Regions from separate parts of the Homo sapiens genome. Here all the other regions are linked to region 1. The links are contacts of gene promoters, found by promoter capture Hi-C in blood cells and fetal thymus (Javierre and others, 2016). All regions are on one chromosome and are shown on one strand. The core of a region is centred on a gene start or on the middle of the fragment in contact, and the rest is flanking DNA. Distances in the headings are between cores, read along the strand shown. Region 1 holds the start of NEURL4 (neuralized E3 ubiquitin protein ligase 4). Region 2 overlaps LOC105371512 (a long non-coding RNA gene). Region 3 overlaps POLR2A (RNA polymerase II subunit A). Region 4 overlaps CLEC10A (C-type lectin domain containing 10A). Region 5 holds the start of ZBTB4 (zinc finger and BTB domain containing 4).

The links. Contacts are between HindIII fragments. The CHiCAGO score rates a contact against its expected background, and 5 or more counts as called.
Region 2: a fragment that was not itself captured here is called in contact with the fragment with the promoter of NEURL4 in region 1 in 1 of 17 cell types (M0 macrophages); the score reaches 6.9 in M0 macrophages.
Region 3: a fragment that was not itself captured here is called in contact with the fragment with the promoter of NEURL4 in region 1 in 11 of 17 cell types (total CD8 T cells, fetal thymus, activated CD4 T cells and 8 more); the score reaches 9.0 in total CD8 T cells.
Region 4: a contact is called between a fragment that was not itself captured here and the fragment with the promoter of NEURL4 in region 1, in 1 of 17 cell types (monocytes). The highest score is 5.3, in monocytes.
Region 5: a fragment that was not itself captured here is called in contact with the fragment with the promoter of NEURL4 in region 1 in 11 of 17 cell types (naive CD4 T cells, total CD8 T cells, naive B cells and 8 more); the score reaches 8.2 in naive CD4 T cells.

The regions. Positions count from the first base shown.
Region 1 is chr17:7,326,278-7,330,956 of GRCh38, forward strand. It overlaps NEURL4 (neuralized E3 ubiquitin protein ligase 4), which reads right to left and starts at 3,058. Exons shown (of 29, transcript NM_032442.3): 1 at 2,754-3,058; 2 at 1,163-1,607; 3 at 888-953; 4 at 434-732; 5 at 160-271; 6 at 1-66. The coding sequence starts at 3,035. RefSeq lists enhancers at 2,331-2,990, 2,973-3,267, 3,203-3,382, 3,413-3,462, 4,343-4,492 and a silencer at 2,763-3,002. The HindIII fragment of the contact is 8,367 bases long and covers 255-4,679 here.
Region 2 is chr17:7,136,475-7,140,771 of GRCh38, forward strand. LOC105371512 (a long non-coding RNA gene) reads left to right here. Exons shown (of 3, transcript XR_934191.3): 2 at 764-1,324; 3 at 4,204-4,289. Among named protein-coding and RNA genes, the nearest start is that of ASGR2, 24 kb to the left of the region's middle. The HindIII fragment of the contact is 880 bases long and covers 2,360-3,239 here.
Region 3 is chr17:7,493,417-7,497,614 of GRCh38, forward strand. It overlaps POLR2A (RNA polymerase II subunit A), which reads left to right. Exons shown (of 30, transcript NM_000937.5): 2 at 2,525-2,657; 3 at 2,794-2,930; 4 at 3,024-3,197; 5 at 3,348-3,629; 6 at 3,940-4,101. Among named protein-coding and RNA genes, the nearest start is that of POLR2A, 11 kb to the left of the region's middle. The HindIII fragment of the contact is 1,762 bases long and covers 827-2,588 here.
Region 4 is chr17:7,070,616-7,075,359 of GRCh38, forward strand. CLEC10A (C-type lectin domain containing 10A) reads right to left here. Exons shown (of 9, transcript NM_001330070.2): 9 at 3,922-4,607. The coding sequence ends at 4,439. Among named protein-coding and RNA genes, the nearest start is that of CLEC10A, 7.3 kb to the right of the region's middle. The HindIII fragment of the contact is 1,720 bases long and covers 2,542-4,261 here.
Region 5 is chr17:7,475,787-7,480,321 of GRCh38, forward strand. ZBTB4 (zinc finger and BTB domain containing 4) reads right to left here and starts at 3,845. Exons shown (of 4, transcript NM_001128833.2): 1 at 3,670-3,845. RefSeq lists silencers at 3,152-3,201, 3,462-3,921, 3,942-4,201. The HindIII fragment of the contact is 1,246 bases long and covers 809-2,054 here.

The sequences.
Region 1 (4,679 bases), core at 1,808-4,307:
CGCAGTACTCCCGGCGGGTGCCCTTGCCATTGGTCAGGATTCCACAGCCGCTCATCATGATGGTGCCTGGGTGATAGTGGACACTTGGGTTCGGGTACGGGGCTTCCTTCCCCTCAGCAACACCAGGCCTGCACCCCCGCCCCTGCCCGGGGCTGGTACCTGACTGGAGGTTGGTCATGGTGGCTGGGTACTCCAAACTGTTGGGGTTGTGGGTGGTGACCCCAATCTCAATGGAGCCTGACCACTTATCAACAAGCTTGTCGATACGGATCTGGCATTGAGGGACAGAAGGGAGAAGCAGGGAATGTAAATGCAGAAAGGGACCTTCAGCCCTTGGTTCTTCCCCAGGGCCCACCCTCCTAGCACCAAGGGTCAATCCCCATCTTTAGCTCCCAGGGATAAGGCGCCAACCAGACCACAGGACTTTGCACACCTCAAACATCTCATTGTCCCGAAGGGGGCGATTGGTCATGACAACCCCATTGTTGAATTCATCCAGGGGCCGCCGGCGCTCAGCCGTCTTATTATTGTTGCTGAGTTTGATGAGGGTCCCGCACTTTTCATGAAAGAGCAGGGCATCGTTGGAAGTGAGAATGGGCGAGGTGGCAGCACCGCTAGATCCCAGGCCTTCCCCTGCCGGTGGGGAGCTCAGGTTCACATTCAGGAGCCCTCCATTGTAGGCAGACAGGATGGTGTTGCTCACCACCTCAGACAGCTCCATGTTGGCAAAGTCTATAGCAGCAGGATGGAAGAAGGAAGCTCGGAAGTTGGGATGAGGCTCTACACCCCCAGACCTGGTGCCTCTCTCCCTACCCCTTCTCCTGAGGGCCCTCCCTTGTCCACCTCACTTCCCACTCCCCTTCCCAGGGCCTCCCCAAAGCCCTCACCATTATGCGACTCAAGGCTGTTAGGAAACGTCTCCGGCCGGGCCTGCGCTGGGGACACCATGAAGGCTGGGGACCAGGTGGGATGGGAGGGGAATAAGGGTTCAGTCCCTGCTTCACGGCCCATAGCCAGGAGAACCCCCCATCCTCTAGCTCCTGCTCTCCCATTCAACAGACTTGGGGATCAGGGTGGCCCTGCCCACACCCAGCCTGTCTTGTCACTCTATTTCCCCCATTCCGTCCCCACCCCACCACCACTGCCCTAGCTGTGTTCTCACCTTCATCTGCAGAGGTCCCCTGTTCAGCCAAGGCAGAGTCTTCAGTGGGGGCCAAGGGCTCGAGGGGAGGTGTGGGGATGGGAGTAGGGGGGCTGAAGCCTGGCTCAGGGGGTAGCACGGTGATCTGGGTGCACTTGCCATAAAGGTCCACGACGGCCCAGACACGAGGGGGCAGGCCTGTGGCAGCCACACCGCAATCCCGCCCATTCACCCAGAGCCGAAGCTCCCCAGCAACTGTGCGCTCCACGCCCACGCGGTCCCCTTCACCAAGCTGGTCCAGGTCCTGACCATACTCCTCCAACACAGAGCGTCCATCTCTCAGCACAGAGCAGCCCGACACTACCCACGAGCCCCCCTTCAGGCCCGTGGCACTGCTTGGAAAGTCCAGCACACTGGGGTCCAGCGCTGTCACCCCAATCTCAATGGAGCCGCTCCAGGAGTTGACCTGGGATAGGGGTATTGGACAGAGGCTTAGAATGGGCCACCCCCCATTCCACAGGCCACCATATCTTCCCACCTCTCAGACAGCTAGCTGGCTTTCTGTCTCTTGGAACACTAATCCAGAGATGCAGACAGTGATTTTCTGGACTCCGTCTTGGTAATTATTTGGGCTTTCCTTTAGCAACTCTGCTCTCTACTCAGTGTTTACTAAACCACTCCTTTCCAAGCCAAGCACAAATTCCTTGGTTCCAACCTCCTGCCTCCTCTAACTTTCCTTGTCTCTATGGCTCTCCAACCATCCAAATTCTCCTACTTCCTATACCCACACCTCTTGCTCTTGTGTATCATTCATTCCTTTCCCCTGGCCTAATTCTCTCCAAAGATCAGGCTCTACCCAGATTCAATCTCCTTCCAAGTTCTTTTTCTGTGAGCCTGGCCTCTTCACTGAATCACACACACCTCCCTCACCCTGGATCTTTCTCCTCACCTATCTTTCTGGCACAGCCTCTGTCCTTCAATGGTTTGTTCTGTTTTTTTGAGACGGAGTCTCACTCACTCTATTGCCCAGGCTGGAGTGCAATGGCATGATCTCAGCTCACTGCAACCTCTGCCTCCCGGGTTCAAGCCATTCTCCTGCCTCAGCCTCCAGAGTAGCTGGGATTACAGGCGCACGCCACCATGCCTGGCCAATTTTTGTATTTTTAGTAAAGACGGGGTTTCACCACGTTCACCAGGCTGGTCTCAAACCCCTGACTCTAGTGATCCGCCCGCCTCGGACTCCCAAAGTGCTGGGATTACGTTTGTTCGTTCCTTGGCATCTTTCTTCACTTGCCATCACATCTCTGACATCTCTCCATCCTCCATGCCCAAGAAATTGTACCAGGAGGTCTGTTCCCAGCCATTCTAGTGGGTTAGCCCTCGTGTCCCTTCCCTGGTTCTGGATCTTGAGAAAACTCAAGCTCTTAATGTCATCTTCAAACTCAATGTTTCTGCTTCATGCTGTCTTCCTGACCGCCCCCTGGTGCTCTATGGTCTTTCTGTTCCCTCTCGGTGCCCGGCAATGTGGGCTACCCTGGCTGTCCTACCCCGTCTCCCTCTAGACGCCTCCCACCACCCTCCACATCTCTGTTCCGCGGTACCAGCGCTGCACCTTGCGGTCGATGCGGACGGTGAAGACGCGTCCATCGCGCAAGGGTTCTCGGCTCAACACCAGCCCGTGGTTAAACTCCTGGCCCGGCTGCTGCCGCCGCGCCGTACGCCCACAGGCCGACAGGCTCACCAAGCGCCCAGTGCGCGGGTGCAGTTCCCCGCCGCTGCCCAGACCCCCGTTGGACCCCGGTCCTGAGCCGCTCCCGCTGGGGCCCCCACCCCCGCCCGGCCCCGGTCCAGGGCCTCCCCCAGAGCCCCCACTCCCACCCGACCCTGCCGCCATCTCCGCTGACACCGGGGCAGCGCGACAGCCGCGCTTGGCGGCACCGTGGCAACCGCGTCGGGCAGACAGTCCGAGGGATACGACCGGGGGGCTGAGGCCAGGTATGCTTTACGGCACTGCCGGGCAATGAAGCAGCCCGCGCTAGGAGCTGGGGACGACCACGATGAGAACAGAAGGACACGGGGTCGGGAGCCTCGCTTTACGGCATAGCGAGGTGACGGAGCGGCTCCGAGGGGGACGAAGACCTGGGCAGGGAGCTTTTGCGACAGTGGGAGAAAGACACGCCCACCGCAGGCATCTTTACGACGGTGGGGTGCTGGAGCCCAAACACTTTCTGCTTTGCGACAGCGGCACCGACGACCCCGCCCTCGCTAGGGGGCGGTGACACCTTGAAGCACTCGCTTTACGGCAAGAGGGGGTGTCTCCCCTCGGGATGCAGGCTCCAAAGCAGCGTGAGCCGAGTCTGGAGGACCCAGAGAAGCGGTAGTGAAAGTCTCTTCCCGCCACCCGACTGAGGACGAAGTGTCTTGCAACAGTGCGGCAGTCCTTCCACTTTGCCTCACACCTCTTCTGATTGGCTGAGCTAGCCGACTGGCGGGGGTGGGGGAAGCTCGCTGATAGTTCAAGTCAAGCCCAGCTTCAACTCCAACTCAACCAAACTATTCCATGTTAAGACCACAAAGAGTCTAAAGAAGTCCCGACAGGCCGTTTCAAGCGACAGCGTTGATGACCCCAAAAGATCTCCCTTAGAGCTATTAACAAGCCCCCTGCCCAACTCCCCGAAGCTCAAGCTCAGGCTGGAGGACCGTGAGGTCACAGTCGAAGCTCCTGGCCTGGCCCCCTGACTGGGATTGGCTGGTTTGGATGAGGGTGGTGATGGAGAAGGGCGGGAACAAATTGCCCAGACAAAGAAAATCTTTGGGTGGGACACAAAGGAAAGGGGCGAGCGGAGGGACCCCCAGCCCGAGTCTCTATATAGTCTTGATTCCGCCCGCCGCAGCTCTGGAGCAGGGGAGAAGTGGACCCGGGACTGAGCCCGAGCATCCCCGGCCGGCAGCGGTGGGGGCGGGGCCAGGGGCGGGGCTACGTGGAGCCGGGAGGCGGGTCAGGATCGCTGAGAGCAGCCCCCCAGTGGGGCCATGGAGAAGGTGGAGTCCCTAGGGGCTGCTGGCGGCCTCAACCGGGATTCCCCTGGAGGGGCAGCCAGAGGAGTGCCCGCAGCGGTCACAGGAGTCGAGGCAGGCGCTGGGCAGCCCTCCAGAGTAGTCTTGTTTCACGGTTCTGGGCCCCACGTGCACTCAGGGGGCTCCGTAACTCATAGTACTGGTTCAAGCTGTCCCTCCGGGGGGATAGTGGTCCTTGGTTCCGGGCCCAGTCAGCACCCAAGGGAGGCTGCGAACCACAGCCTTGGGTCTGGCAGGAACCCTGGTGGATTCAACATCCCCGGGCCTCGAACCAGTGTATCCAGGGCTTCCAGCCCCGGGCCTGGGGGACCTGCAGGGCAAGAGGTAAACAGCCCCGGGTGCAGTCCGCACTCTGGGCCAACTTGCTTGAACCCCCAAAACTCCCAACAGGACCGGCCCCGGAGCATCCTACGAAAGAACAGCTCCAACTTGATGCAGAAATCCCCCAATGTGGAGAAGT
Region 2 (4,297 bases), core at 1,550-4,049, 190 kb before region 1:
CTGCACCCCAACTATTTTTTAATACAGGTTGAGCGACCCTAATCCCAAAATCCAAAATCCGAAAGGCACCAAAATCCAAAATTTTCTGAGCCACAAGTGGAAAATGTCACACCTGACCTCATGTGACAGGTTTCAGTCAAAATGCCATCGAAACTGTTTCATGCACAAAATCATTTAAGATAATATATAAAATTACCTTCATAGCCTGGACAACATAGCAAGACCCTGTCTCTACAAAAAATTTAAAAATTAGCCAGGACTGGTGTTGCACGCCTGTACTCCCAACGACTCGGGAGGCTGAGGCAGGAAGATCACTTGAGGTCAATCAATCTGCATTATACTTCTAAGTAGCTGAAGTGAAACATTAAACAGTAAAGAGATCATTCTTACATAGCTAAGAGTATTCAATTATTCAGCTCCTGAGAACTATTTGGCTACACTTACTTATTATCTTTCTTTTGCCAACTGGTAAGACATCCTAGCCTGAATCACAAAAACACTTTCTGGTTCACATCTTAGAGTCGAAAAAGGCTTGCGAAGCCCCTAAAGGTGTTGAGGCAGCTTGGCCTGAGACCGTGATAGCTTCTGTTTCATCCCCAGATCTATTACATGGAGTTCAGAAACCAGGACGATTGCATTTATAAGCCCCAAATTTAAAAGATTATTTGAAAAAGAGCTTCTTGAGTTTTACTCTTGATACACTAAATGCAATCCACAGCCTCTCTGCCCTAACAGACTTTCGTGTTCCTTCCCTCTTTTATAGTAAAATTAGGAAGTGGGGAGACGGGACAAGTAAGTAAGGGAATCTGCACAGGCTGAGCAACCCCACCCTCAGCCTTGCTGAGTTCTCTCCACCCAGAGGACACTGTACTCCTGCTCTGGGAAGACAGCGCCTCCCGCCAGGGGATTCCGCCAACCACCGCTCCCTGCAATCGGGGTTACCAGTGATGATTCTTCCCCCAGCATCACCCTACGGTGTCTTGGCAGCCTGCCTCCTTCACAGACTGCCTCGAGAGTCCCTCAGAGCTATTTCCTTAAAGACCAAATGCGAGCATATCTTCACTGACGGGGTTTCAGAGCCTCACTTTGCAAGTTTTGAGGCAGAGGCTCAAACTAATTTTGCTGAGAAGGACAGGAGAGCTGAGAGAAAATCAAACAGAACGGCGGCTCTCCTCCCATTCATGGCATGTAATGCTCTGGGCCCAGCTACATCTGCCATGGCCTCCAGGGACCTGCTGGAGGGGTCTCCCAGCCCCACCTGGTATAAGCCAAGCCTGCTCCAGACTCAGGATCTGCCCAGAGGGCTGGGATCTCACAGCCTGAGGTAAGCATGAGTCAGTCTGAATGTAATCTACCCTCCCTACACCCCTTCCCAGCCCCAGCCTCTCTGAGGGGTCTCATAGCCACCCAGCCTGCCTGTGACCTTTGCTGGCTATAGCTTTTCTTCCCATTAACTTTTTTTGTTTTGTTTTTGAGATGGAGTTTCACTCTGTCGCCCAGGCTGGAGTGCAATGGCGCGATGTTGGCTCACTGTAATCTCTGCTTTCCAAGTGCAAGCAGTTCTTCCCCCTCAGCCTTCCAAGTAGCTGGGACCACAGGCACCCACCACCATGCCCGGCTAATTTTGGTGTTTTTAGTAGAGACAGAGTTTCACCACGTTGGCCAGGCTGGTCTCGAACTCCTGACCTCAGGTGATGCGCCCGCTTCGACCTCCCAAAGTGCTGGGATTACAGGCGTGAGCCACCATGCCCGGCCCCCATTAACTTTTAATAATAAAACATGGTGGCCAGGCGCGGTGGCTCACGCCTGTAATCCCAGCACTTTGGGAGGCTGAGGTGGGCAGATCACGAAGTCAGCAGATGGAGACCATCCAGGCTAACACGGTGAAACACCCCGTCTCTACTAAAAATACAAAAAAATTAGCCGGGCGTGGTGGCGGACGCCGGTAGTCCCAGCTACTCCGGAGGCCGAGACAGGAGAATGGTGTGCACCTGAGAGGCGGAGCTTGTGGTGAGCCGAGATTGCACCGCTGCACTCCAGCCTGGGCGACAGAGCAATACTTCATCTCAAATAATAAAATAATAATAATAATAATAAAAACATGCTGCCTGATTACAGGAACTTAAACTTGTTTTGTTTACCCAAGCTGACATGTAAAAGTTACTAATAACTTCTTTGTCTAGGCAAGTTAGCAAATGACTTTGTAAGCACTGAGCAGCTCCCCTTAACTGTTTAAGTGGGAAGCCAGCCGTCGCCTACCCCAGGCAGGGGAGGCAGGACTTCTCCAGTGGCTCAGGGGAGACTGCCCTTCTTTGCCAGTTTTGGTTTGCAGACAGGTCACTGAAAGGTGGGGCCAAAAAGCTTCTGTGAAGCAAAGAAATTTGAGACCCTAGTCCCTTTCTTTTGGAGATCTAATGTCCTTAGAACCTCTGTGATGAACAGAGGCTCTAGCTGAAGTCCACTGACGGGGAAAGGCACCAAAGGGCCCGAGGGAAGCCCATCATGACTGAAGAGGAAATAGAACAAGTGACCCTGTGTCTTAGTCAGCTTGCACTGCCATTGCAAAACACCACGGACTGAATGGCTTAAACAAAAAAAAAACATTTCTTTCTCACAGTTCTGGAGGCTAGGAAGCCCAAGGTGAAGGTACCGGCAGATCCAGTGTCTGGGGAGGGCTCACTTCCTGGTTTACAGACAGCCACCTTCTTGCTGTGTCCTCACGTGGATGAGAGAGCACACTCTGGCCTCCTTCTCTTCCAACAAGGGCACAAATCCTATCGTGGGGACCCCACCCTCACAACCTCATCTAAATGTAATTATCTCCCAAAGGCCCCACCTCCAAATATCATCACACTGTGGAGTAGGGCTTCCACCTATGAATCCGGGGTGGGGAGGACAGAAACATTCAGTCCCTAGAATCCTGTATCAGTGCTAAGGCCTGGTAGGGTTTGTGAGGGAAGCCGCGTTTGGCACAGGCTGAAGGTGCCCCCTCACCAGATAGAGGCTGAGAAGATGTGCTTTGAGGACCTCTGCTGAGCAGGGCTATGAACTGAAGTGTTTTTTCCTCTGGAGCCCGAGGACACGGTGCAGTTGCTCAGCAGCACTAAGGAGGGACTGGGTGTGCCCTGAGCAAGCTGTCATTGGGGGTTAAAGACTGAAACTGTCACAGCCTAGGTGCCTAGTGGCTTCCGGGACAGAGCTAAGCAGGGCACAACAGGGGTAGACGGTCTGTTCCATTAAGCTTTTGAAGCTCGTTGTCTGAGGTAATACCCAAGGTTCATCGTCTCATGCCAAGGAAATTGAGGATGCAGGCACACACGACGAGTGAGTTTAAGAGCAGAGGTTTAATAGGCAAGAGAAAGAAAAGCTCTCTCTCCTGCAGAGAGGGAGGGGCTCCCAAGTCGGTCTTCTGGCTCCGAGGTGAAATGCACTGGGTGTTATAGGTGAGCTTGAGGAGGCAGTGTCTGATTTGGAGGTTTTGCCTTGTTTTGTTTTGTTTTGTTTTTGAGACAGAGTTTCGCTCTTGTTGCCCAGGCTGGAGTGCAGTGGCACGATCTCGGCTCACCGCAACCTCTGCCTCCCAGGTTCAAGGGATTCTCCTGCCTCAGCCTCCCGAGTAGCTGGAATTACAGGCATGCACACCACGCCCGGCTAATTTTTGTATTTTTAGTAGAGACGGGGTTTCACCATGTTGGTCAGGCTGGTCTCAAACTCCTGACATCAGGTGATCCACCCGGCTCAGCCTCCCAAAGTGCTGGGATTATAGGCGAGAGCCGCCGCACCCACCCGGCCAGGCAGTGTCTGATTTACACAGAGCCCAAAAGATTGCGGGACCAGGTATGCCATTTACATAGTGCAAGAAGAAGCTGGCCGCCCCACCCTAATCTTTTATTATGCAAATGGATTCTCTACCTGGTTGGCATCATGTTGCTGCTTCCTTTACTGTACAGGTGGTTGATAAGGAAAAGGGAAGATGAAGCCTCCATGTTGAACATGCCTGGCCCCAGGTAGCCTTTTCCGATTGGCACGGCTGCCGCCATTCACCCGTTCAAGCTTCCAGCTTGCCTGTCAATGTCTGCAGCTCGATTTTACAGGCTGCTCTTTGTTAGAAAAGAAATGATGTGGGGGCTGCTTTTTGTTAAAAGGGATGCCTTACCGAGGACTCTCTTACCCTCACCAACTGCCTAAGTAATTTCTTTTTAGCTCCCGTATTACTGCATCAAACTATAGCCAGATCCACGGTGACTACAGCGCAGCCACGGCAGGGGTGGCCTCTGGCTGAGCGGGACTTGTTTGC
Region 3 (4,198 bases), core at 458-2,957, 170 kb after region 1:
GAGCCGAGTCTTGAAATAGGAGTTTTGCAGTGGGAAGAGCATTCCAAGCAGAGAGGCACTAGCATATAGAAAACCCCGGAGGAACGCAGCACGTGTTGCGCTGGATGTGATAGGCGACTCCAGGGAATTGTTACTGAGGAGTGAACAGGAAGGTGTGGAGCATCAGGGAAATGAAGGTTGAGAACATCATAAAATCCTTTTGGGAAGCTGTCCTGCTGAGTTTGGATGTCAGTCTGAGGACAAGAGGGTATGAATGATTACATTTTTAGTTTATTATTAATTTTTATTTTATTTATTTTTAGCACACATTTTTATTTTAGAATGAGCACCCCAGTTGTAATGTAGAAGGATTGGAGAGAGACAGGCTGGTGACCCATAGGAACGCTCTGTTGTAGACTACAAAGGAAGGGCCTGAACTAGGGCAATGGTGGTGGGGATGGAGAAGAGAGGCAAGATTCAAGAAACACTTAGGAGGCCAGGCGTGGTGGCTTATGTGTGTAAACCCAGCTGAGATTCCCGCCACTGCACTCCAGCCTGGGTGACAGAGCAAGACTTCTTAAAAAAAAAAGGGAGGTAAAAGTGACCAGTACCTGGTGAATGACTGAATAATAATAATGTCCATTCATAAAGCGCCAATTACATCCTGGACTTAAGCAAGCTAATTAAGTCCTTAATGGTTACATAGTTCATAAGTAATATAGGCAGAATTCCAAAGCAAGGGTGCCCGACAGCTAAGTCCATGTTCTTTGGACTGTTTTGTGCTTGAAGGTAAGGAAAGGTAAGCATAGGTTTCTGAATCTGGGATAGAGACTAAAGGAAAAAGAGAAGCTTTTGTGGAAAAGAGAGTTTGCTTTTAAACATGTTTAATTTGATTTTTTGGTGTGATGTTTGCAGGGGGTTCAGTAGGTAGTCACATACGTGAACCCAAAGTCCAGAAGAAAAGTAAGGCCTGGAATTAGAGAGTTGAGAATGAGTATCCAAGCATACCTTGGAGATACTGTGAGTTTGGTTCCAGCCCACCGCAATAAAGCAAGTCACATGGAGTTTTTTGGTTGCCATTGTGCATGTTACATTAGTACTATGCTGTAGTCTACTAAGTCTAAGTGTACAATAGCATTACAATTTTTTTTTTTTTTTGAGACGGAGTCTTGCTCTGTCATTCAGGCTGAAGTGCAGTGGTGCGATCTCAGCTCACTGCAACCTCCGCCTCCTGGGTTCAAGTGATTCTCCTGCCTCAGCCTCCCGAGTAGCTGGGATTACAGGTACCCATCACCACACCCAGCTAATTTTTTTGTATTTTTAGTAGAGATGGGGTTTCACTATGTTGGCCAGGCTGGTCTCAAACTCCTGACCTCAGGTGATCCACCCGTCTCAGCCTCCCAAAGTGCAGGGATTACGGGTGTGAGCCACCGCACCCGGCCCATCTACTTCTGAGTTCTTCTGTTTCCTCCTTTCCTTCATTGAAATGTCCCCATCAAGTCCTGGCTCTTCCTTTCTTGGGATTCCAGCTATTCACTTTTGCTTCAAATCATTTCCACCAACCTGTTTTTCTAGCACCTGTTTCTCCAGTCTTTTAATAAAATCTCTGGCCTGGCGCGGTGGCTCACGCCTGTAATCCCAGTACTTTGGGAGGCCGAGGCGGGTGGACCATGAGGTCAAGAGACCATCCTGGCCAACCTGGTGAAACCCTGTCTCTACTAAAAATACAAAAATTAGCTCGATGTGGTGGCGCTCACCTGTAGTCCCAGCTACTTGGGAGGCTGAGGCAGGAGAATCACTTGAACCCGGGAGGCAGAGGTTGCAGTGAGCTGCGATTGCGCCACTGCACTCCAGCCTGGCGACAGAGCGAGACTCCATCTCAAAACAAAACAAAACCAATAATAAAATCTCCATCTGGACACGAAAGGGTTCAAGCAGTTCAGGCCTTGAGAAGGAGGGCATGACAAAGATGAGGGAAAAGAAACAGGGCTGCATCTCTGAGTGCCTCGTTTCTTATCAGGGGCTTGAGTTGGCGGGGCATGTCTTGGTGCAGAACACCTGGGCTGTCATGGCGAGGGTACAGGTACAGAGAGGCTTCTGCCAGGATCTCAGATTCATGAGCTTGATTTCTGCTTGGGAGGAACAAATAAAGCATTGTTTTGTTTTTTTGTTTTTCCTGAAGCAACTTTGATTTCTTTTTGTGGCTAAATCCTATGGATGTCAGAGACCTAGAATTCAACCCAGATGGAAGTCTGGGGTTCATGTCCCAGTAGCAGGTGATTTGTATGGAACCCAGGATCGACCATTATCTAGTGTGAGTGCTTTTCCTGCCTCAGTGACTGGAATAAGCCTCTGACTTGGGATATTCAACTTTGGCCTTTTCAGAAGTGTACACACACCAATCCCCCATTCCCCTCACTCCAGGCTAAACTTAGTTCTTCTGTAAGTAGTTCAGGGTTTTCCCAGACCTTAGTCCAGAGCTCCCCAGCCACAAAGGCTAGAAACTAGGAACGCTGTTCAGTTGTTGGCCTTTCTTTCTTTGCAGAAGCGAATGTCTGTGACGGAGGGTGGCATCAAATACCCAGAGACGACTGAGGGAGGCCGCCCCAAGCTTGGGGGGCTGATGGACCCGAGGCAGGGGGTGATTGAGCGGACTGGCCGCTGCCAAACATGTGCAGGTAAGTGCTGGGGGGCCAGGTGGGATCCCAAAGGGGAGGTGGGTTGGGTCCTCAAAACTAGGGCTGACGGTTGACACCTGGAGGCCTCTGAGATGAGTGGGAGCTGGGAGGAAAGCACTGGGTGTGTGTCCCACAGGAAACATGACAGAGTGTCCTGGCCACTTTGGCCACATTGAACTGGCCAAGCCTGTGTTTCACGTGGGCTTCCTGGTGAAGACAATGAAAGTTTTGCGCTGTGTCTGCTTCTTCTGCTCCAAACTGCTTGTGGACTCTGTGAGTGGGGAACAGGCTCTGGTCTGGGAGCGGGGGTGCTTGGTAGGGGGCAGGGGGACAGCTTCAACTGACCCTGCTCTGCCCTGTCCCCAGAACAACCCAAAGATCAAGGATATCCTGGCTAAGTCCAAGGGACAGCCCAAGAAGCGGCTCACACATGTCTACGACCTTTGCAAGGGCAAAAACATATGCGAGGGTGGGGAGGAGATGGACAACAAGTTCGGTGTGGAACAACCTGAGGGTGACGAGGATCTGACCAAAGAAAAGGTGGCTGGGGCTGGCGGAGACTTTTGGGAAGGAGGGGTCAGAGGCCTGGAGGGAGGAAACTGGAAGGGAAGGAAACAGGAGGGGCTGGCCTGGTGTGGAGGGAAATGGCCCACCCTCTGGGCTCTGATGGCCCCTGTCTCTCCTTGGAAGGGCCATGGTGGCTGTGGGCGGTACCAGCCCAGGATCCGGCGTTCTGGCCTAGAGCTGTATGCGGAATGGAAGCACGTTAATGAGGACTCTCAGGAGAAGAAGATCCTGCTGAGTCCAGAGCGAGTGCATGAGATCTTCAAACGCATCTCAGATGAGGAGTGTTTTGTGCTGGGCATGGAGCCCCGCTATGCACGGCCAGAGTGGATGATTGTCACAGTGCTGCCTGTGCCCCCGCTCTCCGTGCGGCCTGCTGTTGTGATGCAGGGCTCTGCCCGTAACCAGGTCAGTGGCTCCAGGGCTCTGCCTCTTAGCTGGAGGGCGAGGTGTCTAAAGGGAGGAAGACCTGTAGGTGGGGATGGGTGGATGGACCTGGGTTTGAAAATTCCCCTGCTACTTACTAGCTGTATGATCTTTAATGAGTCCTTTCACATGGTTAAAGGCCACAAACGTGTTTCTGAATCTATAAATGATAGTGGGCAGTCCTGCCTCCTGGGGTGGTGTGAGGATGAGAGCTGTGCTGTGTGCCTGGTACGTTCCTGCCGAGCGCTGGCAGTGGTGGCTGGACCATGATGATTCTGACTTCCTGCCTCAGGATGACCTGACTCACAAACTGGCTGACATCGTGAAGATCAACAATCAGCTGCGGCGCAATGAGCAGAACGGCGCAGCGGCCCATGTCATTGCAGAGGATGTGAAGCTCCTCCAGTTCCATGTGGCCACCATGGTGGACAATGAGCTGCCTGGCTTGCCCCGTGTGAGTCAGCATGCTCCCCACCCCTCTGTGTATTGGAGCCAGGGTGGGGGCTAGCATGAGGCTTCAGAGCTCTGGAAGAGGGCCCAGTGCTGACTTT
Region 4 (4,744 bases), core at 2,152-4,651, 260 kb before region 1:
GAAAGAAAGAAAGAAAGAAAGAAAGAAAGAAAGAAAGAAAGAAAGAAAGAGTTACTGTCTCTGAGAGAGGCACCATCCTTAGACTAGACCTCCTGGGCTTCACACTTTAGAGGGCCCTCACTGGCCCTCCTGTGACTCCATCCCTTCCTGTGGGACTGGGAATCTCCAGGGCCAAGGTGATGTGCTCACCCCAAGCCATACCTGCCCTTCTAGACCATCCTCTGGGTACCTGGGAGCCCAGATCGTCCACCCAGGCAGCTGTACACCTGTCTTCCCCGGGCCTGTCCCCTGGGTGGCAGACCCTGCTCCTGGTGTGCCCACCCTGAGGCTCAAGTGGTAGCCATGGGCAGAGGTTGGGGGGGTGAATGGAGGGTGTGGACCATGCTGAAGGTGTCCTCACGTGTCCCCCAGGCTCCTCAAGGTGCAAGACTGAGCTGAGGGAAGGGAGCAAAGGGAAGTGAGCTCAAGAGGAACTAGCTCAGGCCTCTGCAAACTTTGAGGGGTGGGCCTGTCTCTGGGGTCTTCTGCTTGTCTTACCTTTTCTTTTTCTTTTTTTTTTTTTTCTTGAGACAGAGTCTCGCTCTGTTGCCAGGCTGGAGTGTAGTGGCGCGATCTCGGCTCACTGCAACCTCCGCCTCCCAGGTTCAAGCAATTATCCTGCCTCAGCCTAATAAGTAGCTGGGACTACAGGCACCCGCCACCATGCCCAGCTAATTTTTGTATTTTTTAGTAGAGACAGGTTTCACCATGTTGGCCAGGATGGTCTTGATCTCTTGACCTCACGATCCGCCTGCCTCAGCCTCCCAAAGTGCTGGGATTACAGGTGTGAGCCACTGCACCCGGCCCAATTTTTTATTTTTAGTTGAGACGGGGTTTCGCCATGTTGGCCAGGCTGGTCTCGAACTCCTGACCTCAGGTGATCCATCCACCTCAGCCTCCCAAAGTGCTGGGATTACAGGCGTGAGCCGCCGCACCTGGCCTGTCATACCTTTTCTAAGATCATGTTCCTTCTCACTCTCTAAGCACTTGAGATCTTCATACTTCATTGACATCCTTGGCCCAAGTGGTCTCTGTGGCTGCAGGAGCTGAGATGGAGGCAGAGAAAGGGCTCCGAGGGGGAGCCTGAAATAAGGGCTGGAGGTGGGTGTGGAGCTGGTTTTGAGGTAGGAAGTGAGGATTCGATAGTGGCTGAGCCAGGCGTGAGAACTAGGAATGTGGCTGGGGGCTGGGTTTGCAGGTGAGGTTGAAACAGCGATCACAATTGGGGTTGTATCTGGGGTTAGGATGGGGTTGACTTACTTGGGGCTAAAAATCAGATTGGGTCTCAGGCTAAGATTGTAGACAGGGCTCCTTTGGAGTTGGGTCTGAGTTTGGGGCTGAGATTGGAAACATGTGGGATGGAGCATGGGGGTGTAGTACAGCTAGGCTGGAGCTGCAGTGGGGACAGAGATTGAATTTAGGGATGAATTTAGAGCCGACATTGGGACTGCAGTTGGGGCTGGAACTGGGATTGTATTGGTTTGGGGCTGTCCAACCCAATCTGGAAGTCAGTGGAGAGATCATTTCAATCTCCTCCAATAACTAGTTCAATCTGTGATCCATCTTCCCAGTTATTTCCACCTATAACACAAAGTCGCCCTCTCCATATTTTCCCTAATGCCCTCCCTGCCTCCGCCGTCCAGTTACCTGTACAAAACTAGAGAATGTAATTGTTTGCTTTCTTAGGTAGCAGAATTACCAGGTCAGGAAATTCTAGAGGGAACTGACTTGTATTGGTTCTCCTGCTCCCCTCTACATTCTGTGGCCCTGGTAGAACTGTGATCTCACGCTCCTGCTGGGTGGCTTCTCTCCCATGATCCAAAATCTTTCAGACCCAGGGGAGAGAGGCACAGAGCTGCTTGGGTGGATGATCTGGGTGGATGTTCTTTACTTTTGTGCCTTCAGGCTTCAGAGTGGTGATGTCTCTGCTATTCTTAGCCACAGGGACTTCACCAACTTTTGTTGGCTTCCTCAACCCTGCTCACACTCTGTAAATGTCATTAAACTCTTTTCAATAAACCCTTTTGTGGCCAAGCACTGCAGCTCATACCTGTAATCCTAGCAGTTTGGGAGGCCAAGGCAGGACAATCGCTTGAGCCCAGGAGTTTGAAACCACCCTGGGCAACATAGTGAGACCCTATCTCTACAAAAAATAAACTTAGCCAGGCATGGGGGCACACATCTATAGTCTCAGCTACTCAGGAGGCTGAGAAGAGAGGATTGCTTGAGTCCAGGAGTTCAAGGCTGCAGTGAGCTATGATCGCACCACTGCATTCTAGCCTGGGTGACAGAACAAGAACCTGTCTCTCTATATATATATGTAGAGAGAGAGAAAGAGAAATAAATCCTTTGGTTTTGACACCTGTATCTTGCTGGAACTGATTAAAAAAAAACCCTTTGAATAAAATTATAAATGTTTACTATGGTACACAGAAAAATAAAAAAGAATAAACTCCATTTGGAAGTCTAACAGGCTCCTCAAACTCAACATGTTCAAAATAAAGCTTCTTATCTCCTCATCCCACCCACAAAACCAGCTTCTCACACGGTCTTCCCATCTTAATTAACTGGGACTCCATCCTTCTAGGTTTTCAAGCCCCAAACCTGGAATTATCCTTGACTTTCTCATTTTCCCAAACCCCTCAGACAACCCATCAGCAAATCCTGACAGCTAATTCAGACATTCCTATATGCCAGGGAGCTTTCTGGGTACAGTAATACAGCAATGAATGGGTCCTGCCATCCCTTAATGAACTTAAAAAGTTGGTTCTTAATAGCTGAAATGCAGCTGGGTGTGGTGGCTCATGCCTGTAATCCCAGCACTTTGGGAGGCCGAGGCGGGCTGATCACCTGAGGTCGGGAGTTGGAGACCAGCCTGACCAACCTGGAGAAACCCCATCTCTACTTAAAACACAAAAGTAGCCAGACATGGTGGCAGGCTCCTGTAATCCCAGCTACTCGGAAGGCTGAGGCAGGAGAATCACTTGAACCTGGGAGGCGGAGGTTGCAGTGAGCTGAGATGACGCCATTGCACTCCAGCCTGGGCAACAAGAAGGAAATTCCCGTCTCAAAAAAAAAAAAAAAAAAAAAAATCAAAATAGCTGAGATGCTTCCCTGGTATATGCTGGATTGATTGAAAAAACAGAAATCTCCACCCCTCTCTATATCCATTCTCTACACAGTATGACTTTGTAGACCCCCCCCCAACCCCCCACCAAAATGTGGAATCTATTTCTCTGGCCCTTGAACCTGGGCAGCCTTGCAATCTGCTTTGGCCAATAGGATGCAGCAAAAACGATGCTTCAGTTCCAAGCAAGGCTCTGAAGTCCTTGCAGTCTTCCAATTTCTCTCTTGGACCCCCACCCAGCCATTCTGTGAACAAGGCCAGGCTAAGCTAATGTGGCCCAGTCATCCCCATTGTCCCAGCCCAGAGCCAGCCAAATATGAGACATGGGAGCAAGGCTACCCTAGACCAGCCAACCCCAAGCCAACCCACCAGCTGACCACGGACGCATAAACAAGCCCAGCCAAGATGACCCAAACCTGGCCAGACCAGACCTATAGCCTCATGAGCTATAATAAATGCTTACTGTATAAGCCCTGAGCTTTGAGGTGGTTTGTTACACACCAATTGCTAACCAATACACCTGGGGATCTTATCTACATCTCCCAACAACTCTGGGATCTTCAGAGAAATTAAACAATGGCTTTTCCTAATCACCCTAAGTTTATACCATCTTTAAGTGACAGAAAAGATTTGAACTCAAATCTATATGAGAAGAAAATGCTATTTTCTCAATCACATAGGACTTTCGAAGGCTTCACCTGGCTTCTCCACTCTGCCATTTTTAGATTGCCAAAAATCAAGCAACACAAAGTACGTAAGTTCTCACGAGAGTATATATTCACTTATATGAAGTATATACACGAGAGTGTATGATTTCACTTATATGAAGTTCTAGAAGCTCTAGAAGAGGCAAGGCCAATAAATAGTGAAAAAGAAGTAGATCACTGGCCTGGAAACAGGGAAGTGGTTGGACTGCCCAGAGGCATGAGGGGACTGGTGGGGGCGATGGCAATGTTATCTATTGCGATCGGAGTGGTAGTCACCTAGGCATGCATATTTGTCAAAGTCATCTCTACTCTTTAAATGAGTGCATTTTTATTATGTAAAAATTATACCTTCATGAAGTTGACTTTCAAAAGTTGGAAAAAAAATAAAAGCTTAAGAACACTATACCATCTTTTTAAAATTAAAGAGAAAAAAATTCAAAATGTTAGCAGTGCTTCCAATCTCCCAGTGCTTATTTCTCTCCCAGAGCGGTCTTGCGAGGAGGTCGTGAGAAGAGTCCTCCTCCCACCGCCATTTCTGTGGCCGGGTGGTCCCACCAAAGGCAGCTCAGTGACTCTCCTGGCTGGTCTGACCCAGGCCAGCCTCGCAGACCCAGTGGTAGGGCCTCTGGCAGACGTCGTCATTCCACCTGCCGTCTGGATGGAAGTGAGCACAGTCCTCGCCTCCACCCAGCCCGTGCCCCTGCCAGTCGTCTGGCTGGCCTGGCTTCCAGTTCCTGAGAGGAAAAGACAACAGCAAGCTAGGAAGGGTAGATGGAGTAGAATTCAGTTCAGGGGAGGAGAGGCTGCCAGTCAGATCCCTGGGGGAAACGCTGACGGAGGACATTGGCACAGAAAGCCAGGGTGCACTCAC
Region 5 (4,535 bases), core at 182-2,681, 150 kb after region 1:
TACCTTACTCGAGGTCGCACAGCTTGTAAGCAGCAGTCAAGATTCGAATCCAGGCCCAGCTGACCCCAGATGCTCAATCTTTCCCTCTGCCATACTGCTAGACCTGGCCCTGAAGAGGCCTATGGCCCGCCAGCTGGTTACATAAACCACCGCACAAGGTCTCACGTGCTAAGTGCTAAATGTGTCATGTCTGACTCCACCCTTTCCCTCACTTCCACATCCAGCAGTCATCAAGTGTGGCTGAAATCGCCGCCGAGCTTGGGAATGGCTCTGGAAATCTTCCCTTCGATAGCTCAGGTCCTTGTTAACACTCACGTGGTCCAAGGTTATGGCCTCCCAGCTATCCCCTGGCCTCCAGGCTTACCTTCCTCCATCCAGCCCTCCTCCCCCTGAGGGTCAACGTCCCTAACCACAGTTCAGGACTATCACTCCTGGGCTCAAAACCTCCACTGGTCCCCACTGACTCTAGAAGAAAGTTCAAATTCTTCTACCAGGCAGTCAAGGGCTCTGGTCTAGCTCCAATCTTCCTTTTTAATCTTGCCTTGTGTTATCCTCTTCAAACACACAGTACTCAGCGTGAGCCAGGCGTGATGGCAGATACCCATAGTCCCAGCTACTCAGGAGGCTGCAGCTAGAGGATTGCTTGAGCCCAGGAGTTTGAGTCCAGCCTGGGCAATATATTGAGACCCAGTTTCTAAACAAATGAACAAAACCCCAGACACCCAGTGTGCTCTCCAGCTTCTACATGACCCACACCTTCATGCCTTTGCCTGTGCTGGCTTGTTCTGCCAGAAATGCTCTTTCCCCAAGCTTGTCAAAATCCCTCCAAAACGTTAAGATCTGACTCCAAGGCCACCTCCTTCTTGGCCCTCCCTGATCCACAGGATGAGAACGATCATTCCTTCCTCTGACTCATCAACCTTTTGTGCTCCTATGGCCAGCATCCACCTTACACAGCAGCAGAGACTCAGGTTCTCATGCCCTCAGCTGGGGATCCCTGAGCATCCGGGTCTTCTGAAATGGACTGCTGCAAATGCTAAGTTCTGCAGCAACTGGGGAGAAGAGTGTTGGAGGGAGTTGCACAGAAAGGACCATCCACTGAATGTTCCAGAAGGCAGCAGAGTACAGTAGTTAAGAGCACAAGATCTTCAACCTGATTGCCCGGGTTCAAATACAGCTTCACCTCTTACTAGCTAAGTGACTTGGGGCAGATTACTTAACTTCTCTGGACCTCAGCTGCCTCACTTGAAAAAGGGAGGTAGAGTGCCTACTTCAGGGTGTTGTTCTGAGGACAGAGTGGCCACATATAAGTGCCCTGAGGACAGGCTGGTGCACGGTCAGTGCTAAGCAAGTGTGTGCTGCCATTATTATCAGCGAAGCCCCAAGAAGGGAATTCCCAGTCCTGGGGGAGGGCTGACAGGGGCTGGCATAGGCACAGCCCCCAGACTATAGCCACTTTCCGGGTCCGTTTCCCATGTGCTTTTGGAAGATACGCAGGGCAGACAATCAGCCCCATTCTGCAGATGAGGAACTGAGCTTCCTTCAGATCAAGTGCCAGTGAGGGAATGGTAAAGACGCCAGAGCTCCTCAGCCCTGGACCATGGCTCCTTTCTCTTCACCAGACCGTCACTGTGCACCTGTTGAGCAGGCTCCCACGGCAGCCACCCCTTCCCAGCCCCCCATGCCGGAGGGCCTGTCCGCAGCACCCTCCCTTCCCCCACGTACACACATCCTTCCAGTGGGGCCGGGCACAGTAGACAGTGGTGTGCAGGCTTGGAATGCACTTGCACACACACCCCTAGAAGGGCCCAGTCCCCAAAGGTGAGGAAAACCTGTTCTGAGGAATCTGCCTAGTGAGCGAATTCTGTTCTGAGGCCCTTCCACCGTCGCAGGAGTGGGGCCCAGTGTGCGTCAGAGATACCCACAAGGGGGGCAGAGAGAGGGAGAGGGTGAAGCAGGAGGAGGCTGAAAACTTCACGTTTCTTTTTTCCATTTTAGTGACAAGAGTCACACCCAGCCTTTACATAAACATGGCCAAGGAGCCTCTCTGTCTAAGCTTACTTCCCTTGTGGCCGCCCAGCCTCTCCTCCGGGTGACCCTGACACGCTGGGCAGGCTCATGAGGGGCAAACATACAGACCCTGCAAAGATTAGCTGGGCCATCTGACAACACCCATGCCTCCCGCCGGCCTCCATGCGCTACCCTGCATTTATCTCCCGCCTTCCTCATACCAAATCCCCTCCGCAGCCCCACCGCCACTTAAGCACACAGACGGCAGGCACGCACACACAGCCTGCTTGCGGCTGGCCTCTTGGGTCTGAGGCCCACACTGCCCTTGTCACGCCACCTCCCTCCCCACATGTGTTTTCTGACCAGTTTGCCTCCCAGCTCAGCAGCCCAGACAGGCTCCTACAAACAACGTCACAAAAGAATCCTGTGGAGAATGTTGCAAACACACAACCTTCCCCTCGCTTGGCTGCCCATGATCCCATAAACACAACTGGCGCATTCCACCTCGAGCCCCTCACACCAGTGCCAACTGACCCACAGGCCCCTGAGACATACCCCGGGGTTCCTCGCTCCTCTCATGATCTTTGGGATCTGAGTTCTAGACGCGCAGCCCCCATGCAACGCGCTCATCACAGACACGCAAACCCATCCATCGCCCTCTTCACCACTGGACCACACCTCAGCAGGGCCACAGAAATGGGACCCAGACGTGACGCCTTCTGACTCAAAGGCCCACAACCGCCCCCTCCAAAAGGGCACATACACTGCATCCTGGCACCCTCCGCAACACATACAGCATGCCAGCTCTGCAGAAAACAGTTCATAAACAGGTCATAGGTGCAGCACAAGACACACATGCGAGAAAACACATGCTGTAGAAAACATACAGCCCCACATCGAACAAACTCTGCACCCAGCATGCTGTGCCCTGCTCAGAATACCCATCTGTCACCCAAAGCCACAGGGCTCGTCTTGTAACTCTGCCCCACAACACTGGACACCCTTCCTGGCTTTCTATCTCCATGGCCCAGGGAGGGCCCTACCCAGACCCCTGGCTGCCAGCAAACGGTGGTGCCCAGGAGAGGTTTACCTTGCCCCACCACACAGCACAAGACACACGATCTCCAAGACTCACAGCCACAACCCTGCCCCGACGGCGCGGCGGTTCCGGGGCCCCAGCTCGCCCTGCGCACCCCGCACACCCCAACTCTGGGGCGCTCGGCGGCCCACCCCTCCCCCTCTCTGCCTGGCTCCTACGCCATCACCCTCCCAGCAGCTTGCAGCGCTTGCCCGGGCTCACACCCGCCCCACCCCACCCCCAATCTGCCCCACGGGGGGAGGGGGCCATTAGGCTGCAGAATTAACCCTTCAAAGAGGGAGTGAGCACCTCCCCTTCCACGGCCCCAGGCGATCGCGTCCCACGGCCGCCCCTCGCTCGGACGCCATACCAGGGCCCCCTTAGTCGCCCCCCAGCGTCGTGCGCGCCCGGGGGCGGGGCCAGGCTCAGCCCCCGACCCCTGCGCCCCCAGGTCAACCCCAAAGGAGAGCGGTCTGGGCGCGGGGCGCGGTCGGGGCTCCCGCAGCGCCGGGCAGCGGAGAGGGGGCCTGGCAGTTGGCTCCGGTCCGCCCTGGCCCTGCCCAGTTCGCCCCAGGGCCCACCTGACTGCGATGGCGCCGCGTCCGCCAGGCCCGGCTCATCACCGTGGCCGCCCCCGGCCGCTCCGGTTTTGCCCGCCTCCAGCTCCGGCTCCGGCTCCAGCTCCGGCCCTGGCCCCCCCAGCGCCTGGCCCCGGCCCGGCCCCGCTGCCGCCGCCGCCGCCGCCGCTGACATCATCGGCTCCCCCCGCCCCGGTCCTACCCCCACCCCCACCCCCGGAAACAGTCCCCCCCCAGCGCCGCCGCCGCCGCCGCCGAGAGGAGGCCGGCGCAGCGCAGCCGACACCGACACAAAGCTCCGAGCGCCCGACGGCCTTCCCCAGGACTGACCCCCGCGGCATGACACTGCGCCGCGCTGGGCCACCGGGCGGGTGGACACCGAGCGGGGCGCGGGCCGGGCTGCAGCATCCCGGCAGGGGCGCAAGACCACCGACCCCCAGGGAAAGGGCTCCCTCCGCCCTTCCTCCTGCACGCCCTTCACTCAGCGGTGCACACTGCCTGAAAGCATAACACACAGGCTCTCAGGGTGCAGACATGACATGGCAGACTCATAATCAGGCCCGGTGGGACTCACAGACCCAGGGTCGGCACACTCAAAGAGGGCCAGCCCTGGACACACACACACACCCTCTCCAGGAATGCGCAGGAAAGCTCAGCAGGCCGCGGAAAAAGAAGGCCCTGGCCCTGCATACGGGGCACACACGAACGACCACCAGCGCAAATGAACACATGAAGCTGGCTGGGTACTTTGTCCCCACCAGCAGATAGATCCACATCTGTATACTTGAACATAAATGCAGAGGCCTTGGTGTCGGCCTCTGGGGACAGCATCAACAAAACACCAGGTGGAAGCACACACAGAAAAAACA